2 separate regions of the Homo sapiens genome follow, and region 1 is linked to region 2. Evidence: promoter capture Hi-C in 16 types of primary human blood cells and fetal thymus (Javierre and others, 2016). All regions are on one chromosome and are shown on one strand. Each heading gives the region's core, a stretch centred on a gene start or on the middle of the fragment in contact. The rest is flanking DNA. Distances are from core to core; before and after follow the strand shown. Region 1 has its middle 58 kb from the start of UST-AS2. Region 2 holds the start of UST-AS2 (UST antisense RNA 2).

Evidence for each region. Contacts are between HindIII fragments. The CHiCAGO score rates a contact against its expected background, and 5 or more counts as called.
Region 1: a fragment that was not itself captured here is called in contact with the fragment with the promoter of UST-AS2 in region 2 in 1 of 17 cell types (megakaryocytes); the score reaches 5.9 in megakaryocytes.

Annotation. Positions count from the first base shown.
Region 1 is chr6:149,087,723-149,093,888 of GRCh38, forward strand. No RefSeq gene overlaps it. Among named protein-coding and RNA genes, the nearest start is that of UST-AS2, 58 kb to the left of the region's middle. The HindIII fragment of the contact is 154 bases long and covers 2,152-2,305 here.
Region 2 is chr6:149,029,965-149,035,946 of GRCh38, forward strand. UST-AS2 (UST antisense RNA 2) reads right to left here and starts at 2,697. Exons shown (of 2, transcript NR_134599.1): 1 at 2,561-2,697. The region is part of intron 7 of UST (uronyl 2-sulfotransferase); the gene reads left to right. RefSeq lists an enhancer at 3,101-3,290. The HindIII fragment of the contact is 1,599 bases long and covers 1,492-3,090 here.

The sequences.
Region 1 (6,166 bases), core at 979-3,478, 57 kb after region 2:
TATGTACTTCTTTTGGGAAGGGGGTCCATATTTTCATCAGATTCTCAAAATGGTCTGTTACCAAAGAAAAAGGTTAAACACTACAGCATTTAAGTTTTCAAAGCACTTTCACATAAATTACAATACATTCACAGCTGCTACATATTTAATATTTTACTTTTAACTGATCTCAGGTGACATTTAAAGGTTCATTGACACAAGGCAAACCGTACCTTGCAAATACATGCACTTGAACCACAAATGCTCAAGCCAGACCCTTAGCTTGTGGGTGAGCCGTCCCGTTCCCCAGCCTCCCATCACAGGAAAGCTCCCTTAACCTCACATCATGCCTCACTCTTGTGAAATGGTTAAAACAGCTTACAAAGGCGTGGATAGAGCTGACCCAACCAGTTTAGCCCAGAGCTGTTCCACTGCCTCAATCACTAGGGCTCCTGGACAGAGCTTGATTTTAGGGCAAGACTATTCAGATCATTTAAACCCAAAATTGGATCTCTCAGGCAAATTATTGATTCACCTATATAAATTAAACTAAGTCAGCTATTATTCGAGTCTCGCTTCCATAATGAATTGTACACAACTTCAGTGGACTCCACCCTTCAGAGCCCTCCTTGAGTCTGTTCTGGTTACATTTATTTAACGGTGACAAAGTTTCCTTTCCACTTTGTGCAGCATAGCTCTCTTCTCTCCACTTCACAGAAGTCACGTTCTCTGTCCCTCGGCACACGCTTGTATCTTAATCTTTATTTTTCCAACTCAGTTGTGGAATTCCACCAGGAAAACCCTTTCTTGCTCAAGAAGAACTGCGGGTACAATTTCAGCTCACCTTGGGTCTGTGTTGCCCCAGGGAGCCCAGGCTGAGGGTGAACAAGCTGCAGCTGCCACTTGAACAGCGCTTTCTCAGGTCTTGAGCCGCTTTGCGTCATCTCTGTTGCTTCAGTGCCTCCAGAAGCCCCTTGGTGCTCCCCCCAAGGGTAGCGCTCACCACGCTACATTGTAAATGCTCATTTAACCATTGTCTCACCCCCCAGACCACACCCTCTGTGAGGGCAACACCTTGTCTTGTTCACTGCAGTGTCCACGGCACTTAAATGCAGCACTCAGAATGAAGGAGTGAACAAATGAGCCAATGGGTGAGTGGCTGAATGAATGCAGTGAACTAATTCTTTTTCACTGAGCAAAGGAAGGCGGAGAACTTGGAGTGAGAAACAGGAGGGCAGAGTAAACAGGAGAGATAGAGAAAGAAAGTGACAGAGACTTGCCACCTCTGGGAAACCAACACTAGTGGCCCAACATGACCAGAATCCCCCTGGTCAGCTTCTAAGGAACGCTCTATGGGTGTTTTATGTAAACATTTCACATGGCTCACGCCTGTAATCCCAGCACTTTGGGAGACCAAGGCGAGAGGATCACCTGAGGTCAAGAGTTCGAGACCAGCCTGGCCAACGTGGTGAAACCTCATCTCTACTAAAAAATACAAAAATAATTAGCTGAGTGTGGTGGTGTGCCCCTGTAGTCCCAGCTACTCTGGGAGGCTGAGGCAGGAGAATCACTTAACCCAGTAGGCGGAGGTTGCAGTGAGCCGAGATCGCGCCATTGCACTCCAGCCTGGGCGACAGAGGGCGACTCCGTCTCAAAAAAACATTTAAAAAATCTAAAAAATAATAATAAGTGAAGAGGGAAAATCATTCAATATAAGAATCCCCCTCTAAAGGAGCCAAGCAGGTAGGTCTAATAATTCAGACTGTTCCTCTGCTCCATGGTGTGTGGAATGATTTACTGCATCCATAAAGGAAATTGCAGGACTTAGAGCTGAGAGACACTCCGGAGGCCCTGAAACTGGTATGGCGCAGACACAGAGCTGTGTCTGAAGATGTGGCTCCCGGGACTGGAGGGTCTGCAGCTGCCCTGAGCCCACAGGTGACGGTGTTCAAAAGAGGAGCGGCATCAGCAGTGGCTCTGTCCCACGGCTGATTAACGCAACGGAATGTACAGTCAGCAAGGGGGTGCTGCCTGTCAGGCTGTGGACTTACTGTCTGTCCCAGACTGGCTTTGTTCAAGTTTAAGGGCATTGTAATATTTAATATGGCCTGTAGCAATTTCATACCATTTGTAAAAATCATGAGACTATTTAATATAGAAAAAATATGTTCAAGCTTCCACCTAGAAAAATAACTGTGTATAGAACAGAATAAAAATGAGTTCAGAAGAATATTAGCTGATTAACACATTCTATTGAGTTAAGAAACTAGAACCCAGATATACGGGCACAACCAGGAAGGAAAGTGGGAATCTTAAAGGAAGAAGAAGCTTCAGATTAGAGAAGAGATGACCTTTGACTAAGAAGTCCCTAGTAGTCGTACTTAAAGCTTATCACCAAACTCGAACCAATTGTACAGTGTCAGTTAGTAAATCCTAAATCGAATGATCAGCATGTTACCTAGGACACGGCTGCGGCCCTGCGTTCCAGTCGCTATGCTATTCTTTCGCTGTGATGAGTTACTCTGTGTAAAGCAGGGGTCCCAGACTTTTGATTTATGAACCAAGAAAAAAAAATTAATAGAAACATGGAACCAAAATAGGACTGTCAGCTTCCTTTCCCCATTGGTCAAGTAAAAATATGAAGCAAAAAAAGGAAGAGGAGAGAAGGGAATTACTATCTACCGTCACCATGATTTGGGGCAAAGAATAGACATTTTCACATTAAAAAACTAAGACCATAATCTCCAAATTTAAAAAGATGTGATTTTGTATTTAAGAAAACAGTCATTCATTGTTCTTTTCTCACAGGCAGGCTTTGGGGAACCAGGGGATGGAAGAGTGGAGAAGAATACGGGCTTTGTAGTAACACAGTTCAAATATCAATCCTGCCACCTATTAACGAGGGCAGGTAACTTCAGGTTCCTGAGACCTAGGATCTGTCTTCTGTGAAAGAGGCATATGTACTTCACAGGTAATTGTGAGAAGGAACTGAGACAGATACATTAAGGCATAATAAATGCTAGCACTTTCTTCTGGTGAGGATTTTTGGCCGTCAAGACTAGATGTGTGGTGTTTGGAGACATGGGGAGAGAGAAGGCCTCACTCTCAGTACCCTGCTCCCCAGTGTGAAGGCTCACCTCTTTTGAATCACAAACTCTGCTCAGGCCTGGGTTTTGTGGAGTCTTGTCCTCTTCCTCCCTGTTAGAGAGTCTAATTTAAACCTGATCTCACCTGGCTAAAGAAGATACCTGAAGAGGAGAGTTAAGGGGGAGAGGGGCCCTCTGCATCCTCCCATCCTCAGTTCTCCTTGGCCTGGCCAGGAACTGCTAGGACACCCATCATTTTGATTTAGAATAAAACTGATTTGCCTGTCGGCTATCAAGACAGATGGAGTAAGGTTTGCCAAAAAACAGAGAATTTGGCCGTGGCTATTTCTTATATAGACCTTTCCAGCTGCAAGATTGATATCAGAGTGTAACATGCGGCTGCAAATGTAAAGAGAGTTAGGTTTGATCACAGCCCTCCCTGTTTCCCTCCTGCAGGCAAATGACAGGCAGGTTTTTAAGGAAAAAGCTAAGGCTCTGGGTTTGAGAGTCGGACATTAAGTTAGGGACAAAATGATTTAACCTCCTCCTTGGGATATGCTGAGATACTATTCCAAATATTAATTTGCTCAGAATTCAAATTGAACTCTGCAGCTACCTCATCTGAGAGGAAAATAGAGCTCTGAGAACAAAGGCTTTTCCCAGCATCTCCTTAGGAAAACCCCCTGGACTGTCTGTCAGGAGACCCGGGCTCGAAACCATGGCTTTATTGTTCATCTTTTATGCCTCAGTTTCCCAATAGGAATATATGACTAATACTAGTGTTTTCTTTTGACAAGACTATGGTAAAGAAAGACCAAAGAAAACTATACATTTGAGAAAGTTCATAGCACTAATACAATAAGCTGTAATTTTGATTATGGTCATGTTTATGGAATTTTCAGCTTCATTCTTTCTTTTAAGGCTTAAAGTTTAAAATAAAAACACTTTAAATAAAATTTCAGGTGCAACGGCTCACATCAGTGGTCCCAGCTACTTGGGAGGCTGAGGTGGGAGGAGAGCTTGAGCCCAGGAGTTCAGGACCACCCTGAGCAACATAGAGAGACCCCATCTCAAAAAAAATAGTAAAATAAAATAAAATAAATATTGTTCAGGCCTTCAAGACCTCACTGAGAACTTAGCTTTCAGCCATGGCTTACTCAGAAGCCATCAAGGGGCTCTGGCCCCTTGGAGAGCCAGGCCACATGGGCTTCTGCCCCACCACGAATTCCAGTTCCGTAGCCTGAGGAACCTCAAGATGCATCTTAGGGTTCTTGTGTTTTCTAGAGAGCTTTATCTTTTTGTGGCCTCTACGCCCTTTGGTTCCTGCTTCTTTGGATTCAAGGTTTGGGGGAGGGCAAGTAGGGAATAGAGAATAAACAAAGACAGGCAATGCATGTTCGCTCACGCCTGTAATCTCAGCACATTGGGAGGCCAAGGCAGGCAGATCATTTGAGGTCAGGAGTTCAAGATCAGCCTGGCCAACATGGCAAAACCCCATCTCTACTAAATATACAAAAGTTAGCCAGGTGTGGTAGCGGGTGCCTGTAATCCCAGCTACTCGGGAGGCTGAGGCAGGGAGAATTGCTTGAACCTGCGAGGCGGAGGTTGCAGTGAGCCGAGATCATGCCACTGCACTCTAGCCTGGGCAACAGAGGAAGACTGTCTCAAAAAAAAGATAATAAACAAAGACAGGCTTTACAGCACATAAAACAAGCCTTCACTTGGATGGTTGGCCCCTCACCTGCCTGGCCCTTTTTCTCTTTCCTTTCTTCTCACCCTCTTCATTCATCTGCCCTCTTCTTCAGGTGTGAAACCCTCCAGTTCCCCAATGTATACTGAAGAGCATGTTTCCTTTCCTGATATCTTGCTGCTGGCTGGCATCCAAAGGTGTTGCCCATCCAAGCAGGTTTTTAAAGGAATTTTTTCAGACAAAGGAAGATCCTTCCTCAGGAGGAGTTTAGATGCCAGCTGTTAAGAGCCGTTGGGTAAAACAGTGCTGTCACCAACTGCTATGTGAATAAACCAATGCTTCTCAAAATGTGGTCCTCACACCCCAACACCAGCAGCCTCAGCATCACCTGGCCACTTACTAAAAATACAGATTTGGGCCAGGTGCAGTGGCTCACACCTGTAATCCCAGCACTTTGGGAGGCTGAGGTGGGAGGATCATGAGGCCTGGCCAATGTGGTGAAACCCCTTCTCTATTAAAAATACAAAAAATTAGCCAGGCGTGGTGGCAGGCACCTGTAATCCCAGCTACTCAGGAGTCTGAGGCAGGAGAATTGCTTAAACCCAGGAAAAGGAGGTTGCAGTGAGCCGAGACTGCACCACTGCACTCCAGCCTGGGCAACAGAGCGAGACTCCATCAAAAAAAAAAAAAAAAACAATTGGGGGACCATCAGACACTCTTGGAAGTGCAGCCCAGCAATCTGTTTTTAACAGAAGCCTCCAGGAGATTCTGATACTGGCTGAAGTGTGAGAACCACTGACCTGTCAAAGGACCAGCAGCATGTCCACCTTCCACCAGCATAGTGCCTGTGGATAGCAAAGGTTCAATAAATACTTGTTAAATAAACGAACAGGCAAACTACTGATGCCATGTGAAGAGGAAGAGGAAACAATATAAAACACAATTTCTGCTCCTGGGACTTGAAATAAGCCCAGTGAGAAAGCAATGCACAGATTTGAAGTCTTTACAGCAACAAGTCAACTTACAGATACTGAGCCTGTGTTTCTAATGATGCAGAGGAGGATACCGAGACAGTACAACTGTAATGGTGCTCAGGAGCAGAGCTGCCCTGGACACGGCTGTCAGCCCCCCAATCCCCCATCCTGTGCCCCGGGAATTCTCAGTTCCACACTCCCTCTTGAATGGTTCATGTCAGAGGATAATGAACTGCTGAATTTTATGGTTCAGACCCGAATCTGCAAGGCTCACAGGGAGAATGCAGTGTGGGCTGCAGGAGTTGTGGAACTCATGCTGAGGTTTTTTTTTGTTTGTTTTTTTTTTCAGAACAAGAAAGATCTGGATGAGCAGAGATTTATGGAATTTACTTTTCCAGTTTTGGTAGCATTCCAAAGCCTGGGGAGGAAACGTGCAG
Region 2 (5,982 bases), core at 1,447-3,946:
TACATGATGCAATCATCTTAAGATCACAAAATCAGTAAGTTTCTAAGTCATAATTACTTGTATAACAATATGCAGTTATAAAACACTTTCATATAGATGATCTCATTTGATTCTTACACAAATCCCCTGAAGTTGAGGAAGACAATTTTTTTTTCTCATTTTCTAAACAAGGAAACCAAGGCTCAAAGAGGCTGAACAACTTGCTCACAGTCTCGCCAAGTCCTAAGGGACAGCACTGACATTCACGCTTCTGTCCCCAGGCCCATCACAAAACATAAATCTGTGATTCCTCTAAAACTCTTCTTTATATTTAATCATTAATTCAGAAGTTAGTGAGTACTAAGCATTCATAGTATGTATTGCCATTAAAGGCAAGAGCTTAAAAATAAAATCTAGGCTGGGCACTGTGGCTTATACCTGTAACCCCAGCACCTTGGGAGGCCAAGGCAGGAGGATCACTTGAGCCTAGGAATTCAAGACCAGCCTGAGCAACAGCAAGATCCTGTTTCTACCAAAAAAAAAAAATTAAAATTAAATATATAGTTTATCTCTGTCCAACGTATCTGTCTGTTCACTAAGAAACATGAGTTTAGGAATCATCATAGATGATTGTTTTTAAAAACTCAATTATCATTGATGAAAACAGGACTTCAATTTGCTATTGGTTCATTTACCATCGATATTCTCTATAAAGATTTTTTTTTTCAGCAGCCATGTCCCAGGCTCAGATCCTAATAATGTCAGCACTGGATCTTGTGTGTGTGTTACCTTAACACACACACAAGATGTGTTATCTTAAGCCAGTGTGTTATCTTAAGCCAGTACGAGGCAATACACACAGAAAAAAATAATTTTGAGAATAGATCTGTTTGACAACACCTGACGTCTTTCCAGTGGGGGTTGCGGGGACGTAGGGAATAGCAGTGCAAGGTCTTTAAGATAGTGTCTAAAAATCTAAGCTGGGCTGGGCATGCTGGCTCATGCCTGTAATCTCAACATTTTGTTAAGCCAAGGCAGGTGGATCACAAGGTCAGGAGTTCGAGACCAGCCTGGCCAACATGGTGAAACCCCATCTCTACTAAAAATACAAAAATTAGCCAGGCATGGCAACACATGCCTGTAATCCCAGCTACTCAGGAGGCTGAGGCAGGAGAATTGCCTGAACCCGGAAGGTGGAGGTTGCAGTGAGCTGAGATCGAGCCATTGCACTCTAGCCTGGGCCACAGAGCAAGACTCATCTCAAAAAAAAAAAAAAAAAAGTCTAAGCTGAAGGCATATAACTGGTTCAGCTGTAGCTACTGGGCAAATAGTTCATTAAAAATGAACACATAATGTAAACCCCTTTAACTTCTAAACACTTGTGATTTTTTTTAGTGAACATTTTTCTGAGGGGAACTGTATAACCACAGGCTGATAACATCATTCAGTTTACAGAAACATCACCAATTCACAAGAATTCAGCCTCTAGGCTTGTTTAATTTACTTTATGAAAGCTTAAATTGCAGCATAATATATGTGCGTTTGGCCTATTTCAACTATTACTCTTTGTTTTATTGGAAAACATGTTTTACTCTTGCTTACTGATTTGTTCTTGCGTTGGGATCATCTCTCCTCCAGGAGAAAGCATTTCCAATTTTATTATGAAAGATTAACAGGAAAATAGAACTTCCTTCACAGACATTGATGTTCTAGGAATAACTTTACAAAAATATTTCTCTTCTCTGAAAACTAATATTTAAATAGGTGTAATCTGAAACTACCAGAAAAATTCAACAAACACCTCCAGCAAATAAATAGCTGAGTGTCTGTGATGTCCCTTTCCTGGGGAAGGGCAGTATAAAGATGAAAATCTTGTCTAGCTGGAAGGCCGTCACTAACAGGGCTGGGGCGCATAACCCTGTGGAGACATTTGTGCCCGGCCTTAAAGGGTGCGTAGGAGTTTGCCAAGTGGACGTGGAAGGAGGCATTTTAATAAGAGGAAAATAACATGATTGGAAGCGTGGAGGTGAGAAAGCATAGAAGCACTCAGAGTGAGGAGAGCTGGGGCTTGGGCCAGCCCACGTCAGCCCCTGCCTGCGGACCCAGCCTCTTGGAGCCAGGCTCACTCACCCTGCCTTTAAGACGGCCCTACCAGAGGCAGGAGAAGGATCCGCAGCCTCAGCTTTCTGTGGCGCAACCTGGCACTGAGTCACTCATACCAATCTCAGCGCCAGTGGCCAAGCCGCTGCTGCCGGAGGGCCTGTGTCACCCTCCCCCCGTTTCCCTGCCCTCTTCCCATCCTACCACCACCCAAGCTCCCTGGCTTCCTAACAGTGTGGCAGGGATCCTCCCAGGCCCCCATCCTCCTCCAGCCTGAGTTCTTCCTCCCTGCTGTCTTCCCAGTCTTCCCCACTAAGATCCCACCACCCTTCAGACCCGGGCTCACACCAGCTCCTGCTGGCCCCATGTGCCTCGCACCGAATACAGGAGGTCGCACACTGCATCCCCAGACACCAAGTACTGCCCTGCTTGACCACCTATGTTCCCCTGGGCCCACCAGCATGGACTCTCCTTCTGTTACCAGTCACTGCCTGATCCAGGCATGAGCTGCCTGTGTCCCCCGACATCATCCTCCTGGCACCATCCTCTGCTCTTCCTGGCCTTCTTCACTGGGAGCCTTCGGGATCATCCCTCCAGATCAAGTTCTTCCAGCCCCACCTCCCTCCCACCCTGTGCACCCAGGGAAATTCATCTCTTCTGGGTCCCAACCTTGGCCTCGGGAGAGCCCCAGATGCCCCCCTCTGTGTCTACCCCAGTTACTCAGTGTGGTCAGACTTGGGGGTTGTACAGTTTTCTGTCTCATGATTCATTTCCCCAGGCAAAAAGCTGGCTAATAATATCTGGGTGTGCGGGGGAGGTACCAGTGTGTTTCTGTGTTTGGAGGTGAATTTTTTTCTACTTTAGAATTTAATCACTTCTACTTTGAGCAGTTTTTAGCTGAGCTGACAGTAATATGCTCTGCATTGAGTATTTGTAGGGGGTGGAATTAGTCACCACAAATTTCAATTTTTGGACTTTCCTGATAACGCCACAAAGCTGAAAGGCTTCTAAAGCTTGAGCAAAGATTGGAAACTTGACCCCAGGGGTTGATGGTTGATCTTTATAAAAACGACCTTGTGGTCAGTTTGTTCTTTTATGCTTAAATTGTCAAGGTCCCTGTCCACCCCAGGAATTAATGTGGTGATGTGGAAAGAGCACTAGACAAAGGATTTCAAAACTGTCTTTGGGCCCTTGGCTCGTGGCCTTAGCTCTCTGACATTCTTTGCTTATAAAATGTACCCCCTGCCGGGGCGAAGTACAATCCTTACCCATTTTGCATGACTCAACATTTTATAATGGAAGCTTCTATTTTTGTCTGGCTAAATCTTTTTCAAATAAAAATATTTCTTGGTCTGTATATTTTTCATGTCTCAGACATTTTTATCAATACATAATGTCCTAGCTTTTCACATCTTGCAAATGGCACAGAATTGTGAAAGAATACAGCAAAAAGCTAGAAATATACCTGTGTATATAACATTGCTGGGGATTTTTATGTGTGGTTTCTTGTGGGTTCTAGTAAGCACGTTCATTTCATTACCTACAAACGCATAGAAAAATCCAACATAATCCCACACTGATGAGAAGAAGAGAGGGTTGTTTGTCAGGTGGGGTAGTTTCACTTGACTTGAAGGTCTCACCCCGCCCCTCGTCTTTACCATAGCATACGCTTCTAGATGCTTCTGCTGCATTGTCAACCAGACTCTACCAGAACTGTTTTTCAAAACATGTGTTCCTAGGATTTTACCTCCCTGCATTTTTTGCTATATCTATTAAGTAATGCATGTATATAATTAAAAATCAAATAGTCCTATAAGATGTATAATGAAAACCAGCAGTTTCCTATTCCAACCCTCCCAAAGATGAAGTCTGATGTTGCAGAGCCAATCACTTTCAGCGCAGCTAGATGTTTCTTCGGATAATCACCGCGCTATCTGTAACTAGTATGCACAGGCTGCTGTTTCTTGATTTACTGGGGTCATGATCTCATTCTCTTATTCCATTACCTTTACTTCTACTTCCTTGCTCCTCTCCATCTTCCTAAGATGGTCATACCCACATTTGAGATGCATGGTCCTGCTGACGTTGCTGTGACTATATACATTTTGTTGGCTGCTGATCAGAGTAGTACATCATGATTTTGTTTCATTTCTTGCACAACTTAATTGTTTTTCCTGGAATTATTTATTGCCTTCATTTATTTGCCTAGATTTATTTGTACCTATCAAAAATTTCGTATGTGCCAAAATTTTCGTATGTGCCATTAGATCTGCCGCATTCAGTATTACTTTTGGTATTATTTAAATATTAATTACCAGATAAGTATGTCAGTTCCATCCCAACCTGCCCTCCCTTCCCGCAGAGGCCCTCTCCTCTTTCCACCCAGAGCTCTTTAAGCTCCATCGCAGCCTGCCCTCCCTTCCCCCAGAGGCCCTCTCCTCTTTCCACCCAGAGCTCTTTAAGCTCTATCCCAGCCTGCCCTCCCTTCCCCCAGAGGCCCTCTCCTCTTTCCACCAAGAAAGCTCCTGCTCCTAGTATATCTGGGTTCATTACTCTAAACACAGCTTTACTGCAGCTTCCCTTTACTATGTTTCTCAGTTGGGTCCAGTTTTCTTAATCTCGGGGATGCTATTTCTTGATTTAATAACTCATTTTACTTCAAGATGTTCCTAAGTTGCCTCCTCATGAAAGGTGCATGGGAGGGAAATTTTTTTTGAGTCATTGAAGGTCTGAAAAGCTCAGTATTCTACTCTAACTTGATGGCTAGTTTGGTTCTCATATTCATGCTCATTCTCTCTCTCTCTCTCTCTCTCTCTCTCTCTCTCTCTCTCTCTCTCTCTCTCTCTCTCTCTCCTTGGATTGTCTCTTTATTCCTTTTATGAAATTTTACAATATGACTCGGTATGTGTGCTAAATATTTAGTGGATACTTTCAGGCTTAAAACTCCTGTCTTCTATTTCTGGGAATTCTTAACATTTTGTTTCTTTGATGATTTTACCACCATGTTCTGCTTCTTTTCTGGAATGCTTTTAGTGGTCAGATACTTGAACCTCTAGATTCATCCTTTCTATGCGCTTCGCTGTTTTTTCCTCCCTCAATTGCCATCTTTTGAACATTTTTTCTCTGGAAGAGTTCCTCAATTTGTATTCCAGCCACTCTGTTGAATCTTCTCTTTTTCAGCCTTTCTTTCTTCTTTTTATATAACATCTTGTTCTTGTTAGTGAATGGATGCAATATTACCTTAAAAGTCTAAAAATTATAGACATTGGTTTAAGCGTTTTCATTTATTCCCCGCTTTATCTCTATTTGCTCCAGATTCCTTTGTACTGTTTTGGTTGGTTTGGGCTCTCTTTTTCAGTCTGAAGGCTTTCCTCTGGTGACACTTGTCTGTCTTTCGTTTTAAGAGTGAGGCACTAAAGAGCTAATTGCAGCCGGACATGGTGGCTCACACCTGGAATCCCAGCACTTTGGGAAGCCAAGGTGGGTGGATCTCTTGAGCTCAGGAGTTCAAGACCAGCCTGGACAACATGGTGAAACCTGTCTCTACAAAAAAAAAATACAAAAATTAGCTGGGTGTGGGGGTGTACAGTCATAGTCCCAGCTATTTGAGAGGCTGAGGTGGGAGGATCGCTTGAGCCCCAGAGGCAGAGGTTGCAGGGTTGCTGTGAGCCAAGATTGTGCCACTGCGCTTCAGCCTGGGTGACAGAGTAAGACCCCATCTTTAAAAAAAAAAAGCGAAGAAAAGCTAATTGTAAGTGCTGTGCAATGAAGGAGGCTCATTGACCAGTGGACCTCGCTTGAGGATAATCAAATAGCAATAGAGGTTTTGCTGGAAAAATATTTGTTAGTGATTGTAGTTTTTTTCTCTCTGGAGTTTGTCCAGTTTTCCCACGGAAAAATTAT